2 separate regions of the Homo sapiens genome follow, and region 2 is linked to region 1. Evidence: promoter capture Hi-C in 16 types of primary human blood cells and fetal thymus (Javierre and others, 2016). All regions are on one chromosome and are shown on one strand. The core of a region is centred on a gene start or on the middle of the fragment in contact, and the rest is flanking DNA. Distances in the headings are between cores, read along the strand shown. Region 1 holds the start of HPS6 (HPS6 biogenesis of lysosomal organelles complex 2 subunit 3). Region 2 overlaps ARMH3 (armadillo like helical domain containing 3).

Region 1 (5,790 bases), core at 2,412-4,911:
AGGCGGAGGTTGCAGTGAGCTGACATCGCACCACTGCACTCTAGCCTGGGTGACAGAGCAAGACTCCGTCTCAAAAAAAAAAAAAAAAAAGAAAAAGAAAGACATGATTAGCAGGGGTTTTTTTGGTTTGTTTTTTTTTTTTTCTGAGACACAATTTCGCTCTTGTTGTCCAGGCTGGAGTGCAATGGCGTGACTTCGGCTCACGGCAACCTCCGCCTCCTGGGTTCAAGCGATTCTCCTGCCTCAGCCTCCTGAGTAGCTAGGATTACGGGCATGCACCACCACGCTGGGCTAATTTTGTACTTTTAGTGGAGACAGGGTTTCTCCATGTTAGTCAGGCTGGTCTAGAACTCCCGAACTCAGGTGATCCGCCTGCCTCAGCCCCCCAAAGTGCTGGGACTACAGGTGTGAGCTACCGCACCCAGCCAATTTGCAGTTTTTTAAAAAAATCAAAGTTGTACCCTAATAGAATATAAAAAAGTAGGCAGGTGTAAGAGAAAGGTGTAATGAGGTGAACCCCAATAGAAGGTATGATCAGAATTTATTCATAACAGGTGCTGTCTTCCAGTGCAGTGATCAGCTTGTATAGCACCAGAGATCATGGTATCTTTAACAAATTGTTCCGGCTAAAAAAACAGTTGTGGCCAGGCACAGTGGCTCATACCTGTAATCCCAGCACTTTGGGAGGCCGAGGCAGGTGGATCACCTGAGGCCAGGACCTTCAAGACCAGCCTGGCCAACATGGCAAAACCCCGTCTCTACAAAAAATACAAAAATTAGCAGGGCATGGTGGTGTGCACCTGTGATACCAGCTACTCGGGAGGCTGAGGTGGAAGAATTGCTTGATCCCAGGAGGCAGAGGTTGCAGTGAGCCAAGATTGTGCCACTGCACTCCAGCCTGGGGAGACAGCAAGACTCTGTCTAAAAAAAAAAAAAAAAAAGTCGTGCTTCCTACTTCTTAGTATTTGGTGGGTGTGGGTGTCTTGGTTCATGACCATTTGCCACACCTGTTCTTCCTTTCTCCTGAAGATTCTGTGAGTCCCCTATGTTCTTCTAAATAACTTCATTTTTGCTTAAGACAGCCATGGTCTGTTTCTGTAATTTTTTTTTTTAAAGAGACAGGATGCTTGCCATGTTGCCCAGGCTGTAGTGCAGTGGCTATTCACAGGCACAATCATTGCACACCACAGACTCCAACTCCTGGCCTCAAGTAATCCTCTTGCCTCAGCCTCCTGAGTAGCTGGAACTGCATGCGTGAACCACCGTGCCTGGCCTACTTCTGTAATTTTTAAGGAAAAGTTTTCTAAGTGATATCACACACACAAACATGTGCCCATGAAAACGTAATGATTCCTTCACCAAACATCTGTGGAGACTTTGTGTCAGGCTCTACTCTAAATATGAGGATAGGATACAAAAACAAAAGAAATCTATGTCAACTAAGAGCAACTGAAGGAGGAGCAGTTTGGGGCAGGAAGATGATGTTTAGGACATGTTGAGAATGAAATGTCTGTGAGATGAGACATCTTAGGCAGAAATAAATATTTAGTAGACATTTGGATGCTCTTTTTTTGTGTGGAGCTTAGCAGAGACGTCTGAGCTGTAGGCAAAAGAAAAAAATAAAGGGGCTCAAAGTGGAATCAGGATATAGGAGGAAGAGCACATTTAAAGGATGATGGAGGGGCCGGGTACAGTGGCTCACACCTGTAATTCTAACATTTTGAGAGGCTAAGGCGGGCAGATCACTTGAGGCCTGGAGTTCGAGACCAGCCTGGCCAACCAACATAGCAAAACCCGACCTCTACTAAAAATATAAAAAGTAGCTGGGCATGGTGGTGCACTTCTGAAATCCCAGCTACTAGGGAGGGAGGCTTAGGCAGGAGAATCGCTTGAACCTGGGACATGGAGATAGCAGTGAGCCGAGATTGCGCCACTGCACTTCAACCTGGGCAACGGAGCAAGACTCTGTCTCAATAAATAAATAAATAGGCCAGGCACGGTGGCTCATGCCTGTAATCCCAGCACTTTGGGAGGCCAAGGCATGTGGATCACGAGGTCAAGAGATCAAGACCATCCCGGCCAGCAAGGTGAAACCCTGTCTCTACTGAAAATACAAAAATTAGGTGGGCGTGGTGGTGGGTGCCTCTAATCCCAGCTACTCGGGAGGCTGGGCAGGAGAATCGCTTGAACCCAGGAGGCAGAGGTTGCACTGAGCCAAGATGGTGCCACTTCACTCAAACGTGGGCGACAGAGTGAGACTCTATCTCAATCAATCAATCAATAAAGGATGGAGGAAGATGAACCAAAGGCAAATAAAACTCTGAAGGCAGTGCTATCTAAAAATAAAAATAAAAAAATAAAATAAAATAAAAGGAAAGGAAAACCAGCCAGGAAAGATGCAGTGCAAACCACAGGAGGGACTTTCAATGAGAAGGCTGTCAAATAAAAATGTCCTTGAAGACCTCAGCAAAAGCTACTTCAGGGAAGTAGTGGGTTGAGGATAGAAGGAAAGAAAGTGGAGGTGGCAAATGTAGCATCCTTGCAAGAAAATTGACTGAGAAAGGAAAAGGGGAGGGAGTGATGGAGGTGGAAGTGGGGAGATGAGGATGAAAGAACGAATTCCAAGACAGGAGAGATGACAGGGTATTTCTATGCTGAGGACGGAATGAGGGCAGTGAAACAGAAATGGATGCAAGTTCTCAAGGAAGGTAGGGGCCGGGGAGGAGAGGCAGGGCTCATAAAGAGGGATTGGCCTTGGAGAGAGGAGGAAAACTGCTCACCTGAAAAGGCAGTCAAGGGGTGGAAGGACCCCTGCATACAAATTTGTAGGTGTTACTGAAGAGTCGGTACACAGGCTCAGTGCTTCTAAATTATGTTTCTCTGTTTTGGTTTGGGTGATGAGTTGTTGATATGATAAAGTGATTTGTTGCACTGACTCTGGAGCCAGAGTGCCTGTGGTTGAAATCCCACCTCCACCACTTAATACCTGCTTGATCTTAGTTAAGTTACGTAATCTCTCTGTGCTTCATCCTCCTTATCTGTAAAAGGGACTAGGGGATAGAGAAGGCTGTCACATAGTGATATGGAAGTGGTTTTCTTTCCTTCCTTCCTTCTCTCTCTCTCTCTTTCTTTCTTTCTGTCTTTTTAAAATTTTTATAGAGACAAGGTCTGCCTATGTTGCTCAGGCTGGTCTCGAACGCCTGGCCTCAAGCAATCCTCCCACCTCAGCCTCCCAAAGTGCTAAGATTATAGGCGTGAGCCACCGCGCCCAGCCATGTTTACTATTTCCACTAGATTGTCATCTCCATGAGGTTGAGGTTTTCTATTTTGTTTAGGGCTGTCTACTCAGAGCCTGGCACAAAGCATGTGCTCAACGAAAATTTCCTGAATGAGTAAATTGGGGTGAAATTCTTGGGAGAGGGGCTCAGGGGGCTGGAATCCCTATTCCTGCGTGGGACTCCGGGCCACTGGGCGGCGTCCTGGGGTCTGGGGAAGGGCCTCCCCCTGCGCCGAGAGCGTGCCCGGGCGGGCGCGGTCCAGGCGCTGAGCCCCTGGGGCGCTCCCGTGGCTCCTCCCCCGGCGGGCGTGTAGTGTCGGCCCAGCGACTGCGGGAGGCATCCCGGAGCCGGCCGGGCGGGGCGGAGTCGACGCTCGGCCCGGCCTCTGCTCACCTCATCCACGGGAGACGGAAGTCTTGGCCCTGCTCCGCTCCCCCGAGAATCGGGCCTCGCCCTGCTGGGCGGCTGGACCTGGGCAAAGCCTGGGCGCGCTCCCGCGCAGCGGCGCCATGAAGCGCTCGGGGACTCTGCGGCTGCTCTCGGACCTGAGCGCCTTCGGCGGCGCGGCGCGGCTCCGGGAGCTGGTGGCCGGGGACTCAGCGGTCCGAGTCCGTGGCAGTCCGGACGGCCGCCACTTGCTGCTCCTGCGACCCCCTGGGGCGGTAGCCCCACAGCTGCTAGTCGCGTCGCGAGGGCCCGGCGCGGAGCTAGAGCGGGCCTGGCCGGCCGGCCAGCCCTCCCCGCTGGACGCCTTCTTCCTGCCGTGGCCAGCGCGGCCGGCGCTGGTGCTGGTGTGGGAGAGTGGCCTGGCCGAGGTGTGGGGCGCGGGCGTGGGGCCTGGCTGGCGGCCGCTGCAGAGCACCGAGCTGTGTCCGGGCGGGGGAGCCCGCGTTGTGGCAGTGGCGGCGCTCCGAGGCCGCCTGGTGTGGTGCGAGGAGCGGCAGGCCCGGGCCGAGGGCCCGTCAGGGTCGCCAGCAGCCGCTTTCAGCCACTGTGTGTGCGTCCGGACTCTGGAGCCCAGCGGGGAAGCTAGCACCAGCCTGGGCCGCACACACGTCCTGCTGCACCACTGCCCTGCCTTCGGGCTGCTGGCCTCCTGCAGACAACTCTTCCTGGTGCCCACTGCCACCACCTGGCCTGGCGTGGCCCACGTTCTACTCATCTGGAGCCCAGGCAAGGGCAAAGTGATGGTGGCTGCCCCACGGCTTGGTCTCTCCTACAGTAAGAGTCTGAATCCTGGACGAGGGGACACATGGGACTTCCGGACCCTGCTCCGAGGCCTTCCTGGGTTGCTGTCCCCCAGGGAGCCACTGGCTGTACACACCTGGGCCCCAACTCCCCAGGGCCTGCTGTTGCTTGACTTCGGGGGCACTGTGAGCCTATTGCAGTCCCACGGTGGTACGCGGGCTGTGGGCACCCTGCAGGAGGCACCTGTAGGCCCGTGGGGGTCTGCAGCCCTAGGCACATTTCAGGGCACTCTGGCCTGTGTGCTGGGCTCCACATTGGAACTGCTGGACATGGGCAGTGGGCAGCTGCTGGAGAGGAAGGTCCTAAGTACAGACAGGGTACATCTGCTAGAACCGCCAGCCCCCGGCATGGAGGATGAGGAAGAGCTGGAGACCCGAGGGAATCTTCGTCTGCTTTCAGCCTTGGGTCTGTTTTGTGTGGGCTGGGAAGCCCCACAGGGTGTTGAGTTGCCTTCAGCCAAGGATCTGGTGTTTGAGGAGGCCTGCGGGTACTACCAGCGGCGGAGCCTGCGGGGTGCCCAGCTCACTCCAGAAGAACTGAGACACAGCAGCACATTCCGGGCACCTCAGGCTCTGGCCTCCATCCTCCAGGGCCACCTGCCCCCATCTGCACTGCTGACCATGTTGAGGACCGAGCTTCGGGATTACCGAGGCTTAGAACAGCTGAAGGCCCAGCTGGTGGCTGGGGATGATGAGGAGGCTGGTTGGACTGAGCTGGCGGAGCAGGAAGTGGCACGCCTGCTGAGGACTGAGTTGATAGGAGACCAGCTAGCCCAGCTCAACACCGTTTTCCAAGCCCTTCCTACAGCAGCCTGGGGTGCCACCCTCAGGGCCCTGCAGCTCCAGCTAGATGGGAATGGCAAGCTGAGGTCCCAAGCACCCCCTGATGTGTGGAAGAAAGTGTTAGGGGGAATAACCGCTGGAAAGGAACCCCCCAATGGAATACTGCCCCCCTTTGAACTCCTGTGCCAGTGTCTGTGCCAGCTGGAGCCTCGATGGCTGCCACCCTTTGTGGAGCTGGCACAGCAGCAGGGCGGGCCGGGCTGGGGGGCAGGGGGCCCAGGACTGCCCCTGTATCGCCGAGCTCTGGCAGTGCTAGGTGAGGAGGGGACCAGGCCTGAGGCTCTGGAGCTAGAGCTGCTCTTGAGCAGTGGGCGGCCTAAAGCTGTGCTCCAAGCTGTCGGGCAGCTGGTGCAAAAGGAACAATGGGATCGGGCTCTGGATGCTGGCCTGGCCCTCGGCCCCTCCAGTCCCCTGCTTCGAAG
Region 2 (5,047 bases), core at 396-2,895, 160 kb before region 1:
TTTCCTAGACCAGTCCAGTGATATACTACTATGCAATATACTACAGAGTATGTTCTCAGGTATCTGAGATTAAAGACAAGAAAACCATCATATTCGTAATTGCTTTTACCTGGGAAACCTTCAGGCATACAGGTAAAATACTGGCTTTTGAGAAGGGGTAAAGGTATGACTGAGTGTATGTGGCAGTAGTTAAAATGGTTCATCTGAGGTTGAGTTATTTAATTTTAAACTAACATTTCTTTCACCTTCAGAATTGCCTCACAGACTCCCATTTCATGCAGTACTAAGCTTCCTTCTTCATGGAGTCAATGAATCTTCAGCCCACCCAAATCACCAACAACAAAAAAAGCAATTTCCCTTGATGCCTGTTAACAGAAGTGCATTACAAGCCTCAAAGACTCTGCTGATTAACATTAAACAAAATAAAACCTCAAGTAAGAATACCTTCTAACCTTTTCACTTTGAAACTATCTAATCAAAACATCAGCAACTGACCTGTTAGGATTATCCTTCTAACTTACCCCCTAAGGTTTAGGTCTTAACCCTTTCAGGACAATTATTTCCCTCCATAAATTATACTACTGTCCCTGTGGCCATTCTTTTCAGGACCAAAGACACAAAAATGGAACCTTAGTTAGTATAAAAGGCATTTTGACAACCAGCAAGAAGGATAAACTACTGACCAGTGCATCTAGTTGCTTACTTTACCCAATGATCCAATGTAAATGGAGAAGAATGAACCACAAGTGTTGAAAGAACCACAAAAGTCAAATGGACCATCTACATTTCCATAAAAGGCATCATCACTTAATCCATTCCCCTTATGTCTACTTTTTATTAAATCTTTCAATAAATGAAAAGAGGCTCCAAAACTTTCCTAAACATAAAACACCTATAAGATTATCCTATCGTTGCTCAGATCCATCACTCTGTGCTTCTGACTACCTTACTCTGTTCTCTAGTGGCAGGTCCGAAGTTACTGGCAGAGTTCCTGGGGCTACAGAATGAAAACCTCTAATAATCTTTGGAATTGGTTTTCCTATTTCCCTTTTCCTGGATTTCCTATTTCCAGAAGCAAGGCTCCTCTACACGCTCAGAAATGCCAAATGAATATAAAGGAACAAAATGGCCTATAAGAAAATGTGTATTAGATGTTCTGTCCCTTTTCAGAACATAAGAAAATCCTAACACATACCTAAGAGGAATTCTGAAGCACTGGAGATAAGCTCAAAACCCCCAAAACTGATCTAATTTTGATTAATGGTGAACATTCCAATCTCTTGAATATGAATTAAGAACTTTTTAAAAACTGGCATGAGACAAAAACCTGAAATATTTTAATTACACCTCATTCCCATTAGCCCAATTAATCAATTTATTATAAGACACTTAAATTTTAAGCATGGGAGAGCAAGAAAATGAGCAATTGACTAGTCTTCTTTTCCCGTCACTTCAAAAATAAAGGCGAATTGGCTGGTCACAGTGGCTTATGCCTGTAATCCCAACACTTTGGGACGCCCAGGTGGGAGAACTGCTTGAGGCCAGGAGTTCAAGAGCAGCTTGGGCAACATAGTGAGACCCCCATATCTACAAAAAATTTTTTTTAAATTAGCCAGCATAATGTGCACACCTATAGCCCTAGCCATTCATGAGGATGAGGCATGAGAATTGCTTGAACCCAGGAGTTTGAGGTTACAGTGAGCTGTGATCATGCCACTGTACTCCAGCCTGGGCAACAGAGCAAGACCCTGTCTCTAAAAATAAAGGGAAATTATTTTAGTGGATCACATGCTAGACTGAGGAAGGAGGGAAATATTCTGTGGATCCCATGCCAGTTAGAGAAAAAGAGGCATATGAATCCTAAACTAGACTAGATGAGCCATACATAATACCTCAGTGGTGGAGGAGGAGGATCTCATGTGCACAAAGGAGGAAGAAACCTGTCAAGATTTCCCAGTGGTCCAGTGTGGGCCATATGGATTCCATACTAGATAGCAGTGGTCCTGATGTTCACATACAGGAGAGATGAGAGGGTGGGCCATATGGATCACGTACTGGTTTTCAAGTACTCCAGGAAAAGAATGAAATTAAAAGACACGGAAACAGGCTTATACTCCATCCCAGGGGGACCTTTTAGAACTCCTCAGGAAAGGCAATCAGCAAGTCTGCCAAAGTAATTAAGCAAACGAACATTTACCATAAAGCCCACATCAGTTAAGTGAACAAAGATGAATCTTATTACAGTGCACTGTCAGCTCTGAGCCTGCAGGTGCTAACCACTGAGACGTGGCGTTACTCGGCCCTAGCTGCTCACCCACCCACTGTGACAGAGAGCTTCGCCCTTCTCGTCAGCTCTGAAAAAGCAGGCTGCTTTCACCTGCTCCAGCACTGACTTATGTTGCTTTCAGACAGACCCTCACAGAGATGGCTTCCTATAAGAAGCCTGGGTGTGGATACTGTGGCAGGTGGTAGGGTTGGCTACAGAAGGGAGGCTTGAGAGGTAGAGAGGATGGGAGAAAGCAGGGGGGCTGGGTAGCAGTTATGTCAGTGAGGTAAAGAAAATGGGATAGTTTGGTAAATCAAGAAGTAAATAAAGAATAAACAAGCTGCCCAAAGTATTGAACCGTTCTGCCTAAGTGAAGTTGATAGTCTCTCTGAAAAGGGAAGAAGTTAAAACTTCATTGCAAAATAGTTTCTCCTCAAGGAAAGAAATATTACTAGGGAACATCGCTTTTCTAATGTTAATGGCAGCCTCAACATCAGCTTTATTAATGAGTTAGCACCAAAGCTAACAGGGTCAGATTTGTTGAGACCTAATCAGTATCTATTATTTAACAAAATCCACTGCTTGCTAGAATAAATGAATACTTATCAATTATCCTAAGATTTACAAATGGCACTTGAAGCACCTTTTGGCCCTATTTCTTTCTGCAAATAATTTTGAGAGTCAAAATGAAAGCCCCAAATTGACCAAATGCCAACCAACTACATCAGAGACCCAGAAAGCTTTTATTCAACAGAAACTCTCACAAGGGGAAGGCTGTTAAGAGTAGCTGTGAGACAAATTCAAAAAATCATATAACTAGTTTAAAAAGCCAAAGACCATATGTCTATTACTCAGAGGAACAGATATGAATAGACAGAAGTAGGTAAGGTCCCTGTGTCCAGAAACCGATACATCTCTAACTTATTATGGAGAAGAAATCCTAAAGACATTGCTGGGAGACAGATACAACCAACCAACTGAAGAAATGTCACTTGTGGCACTTCTGGGCTGGGCTTGTGACAGAAAATGATGTTGGAGGTCTCACAGCAGATGCACGCACAGGCACTCATACGTGCGCACTTCTCTTCAGGTCTAGAACAAGAGCAAACAAAGAGCTGTGGTAGAAAGTGATTTGCAACCTTACTTTCTACCACAGCTCTTTGTCTGCAACAGGGCCTGCAGTTTCCTTACATTCAAAGGCAGCGGGAGGTGGGAAAAGGAGGGGAAACTAGATGACTGCTACTCAGAACCAAGCAGCGCTGCCCAGGAGAGGACTTAATGGGAGGATAAATTTGGGGCCTGATTCTTTGACGGCACCTCCAGTAATAGCTAGTAAAGCAGGGGGTGAGAGCCAGCTCCAAACATTCATCATAATAGTGCAACAAGATGAAGGTCTTTAGGGGAGAGTCGATGAGATTCCAGAGTAAGAAAATGAAGCCCATGCGGAGGGTGAGGCGGTTGGCTCTGGCAGATTGTCTCCACAGGAGGCTGGTATAATTGTTTTATGCTCACAAAGAGGTTATTAGCTGCCATCTCTTCAATATACCAGAAAGAGCAGTAAGTTTTCTTCCTCCTGAAAGGTGACGCTACCAAAAGGAGAAATTTAGTTTTAAAGTAATTAAAGAACTTTGTTTATGCTATAAGCACTGTTTTAGAAACAGAACTTCTATATTTTCTCCTCTCTTACTCTGCAAATTGACTGCTTTCTCATATAGTCAAGGAATCTCTGTCCCTAGAAGGAAGTTCTACAGTATCTGAAGCTAAAGGTTTGCCAGCACTGCCAGTGACTCTTGATAATTCAGTTTGTTTGACAAACATATGAATACCTATCATGTGCAGGCACTACGCTAGGCAATGAAGGTTGTGAATAAAATAAATCCCAGAGATCAAGGAGTTCATAAATGGAAAAGACACACACGACAGACAGATAATTTCATTATGATGTGGTAAAGGCTAAGGCAGACAAAGAGTAGACAAAAGGTATCATGGAAGCACAGAGGAGGGGTGCTTAGCCCAACCTGCAGGCTTAGAAAGGACATTCTGAAGGACAGGGTGCTTGAGCAGAGTCTCAAAATATGAATTAGTTTATAATTAGGCAAGGAAAGGTGAGAATGTGTGGGCACATTTTCTTACAGGGAAGGAGACTGATACCGAACTTTTACTAAATCAAACAAAAGAAACCTTACTAGTTAAAAATTAGGTTCATGCCTTCAACAAATAGTCAAATTTTTCCAGTAAACTAAAGATAAAAGTTATAGCTTCCTTTCCCAGTGTCTCATTTTAAATATTTTCCATCTAAGGGGAAGCAGGACAACTTTTGTGAAAGCCACAAGACCTCTGCCTGTTGGGGTCCTGTTTACACCTGTTTGCTCAGTACTGACTCAAAGATGCTCATGGAGACAGGCCAGGGCAGGTTCTCTACCTCTTCTCCCCTAAACTAACTGTAAACACAAAGCAGTTTTCTAAGTTGGAGGCAGGTCTTTCAGGCTCCCATGGGAGTAGATGGATCTCAGCTGTGCCGTGCCCGCCCTCTGCGGCTGTCAGTCTCCAGCTGGTGATGCAGCTGTTCCACTTAAAGCCACACTGAAGCCTCCAGTCTCTGATCTCCACCAAACCACACTGACGACACTAAATGGCTTGGCTTTGCAGCTGCCTGTTATAAGAGTGTCCTTGGTTCTCTTTTGGCTTATAAGATTAATAATATACATTTGGGAAGGTCCTCAGTGAGAAACACAGAAGAGAACCTTTAATGCCACGAAGAGCCTGAGCAAACACCTTACC

Evidence for each region. Contacts are between HindIII fragments. The CHiCAGO score rates a contact against its expected background, and 5 or more counts as called.
Region 2: a fragment that was not itself captured here is called in contact with the fragment with the promoter of HPS6 in region 1 in 1 of 17 cell types (erythroblasts); the score reaches 5.9 in erythroblasts.

What each region holds. Positions count from the first base shown.
Region 1 is chr10:102,061,688-102,067,477 of GRCh38, forward strand. HPS6 (HPS6 biogenesis of lysosomal organelles complex 2 subunit 3) reads left to right here and starts at 3,662. Exons shown (of 1, transcript NM_024747.6): 1 at 3,662-5,790. The coding sequence starts at 3,788. RefSeq lists an enhancer at 3,154-3,203 and a silencer at 3,414-4,083. The HindIII fragment of the contact is 26,306 bases long and covers 1-5,790 here.
Region 2 is chr10:101,899,229-101,904,275 of GRCh38, forward strand. The region is part of intron 23 of ARMH3 (armadillo like helical domain containing 3); the gene reads right to left. Among named protein-coding and RNA genes, the nearest start is that of KCNIP2, 58 kb to the left of the region's middle. RefSeq lists enhancers at 3,079-3,238, 3,238-3,901. The HindIII fragment of the contact is 2,718 bases long and covers 287-3,004 here.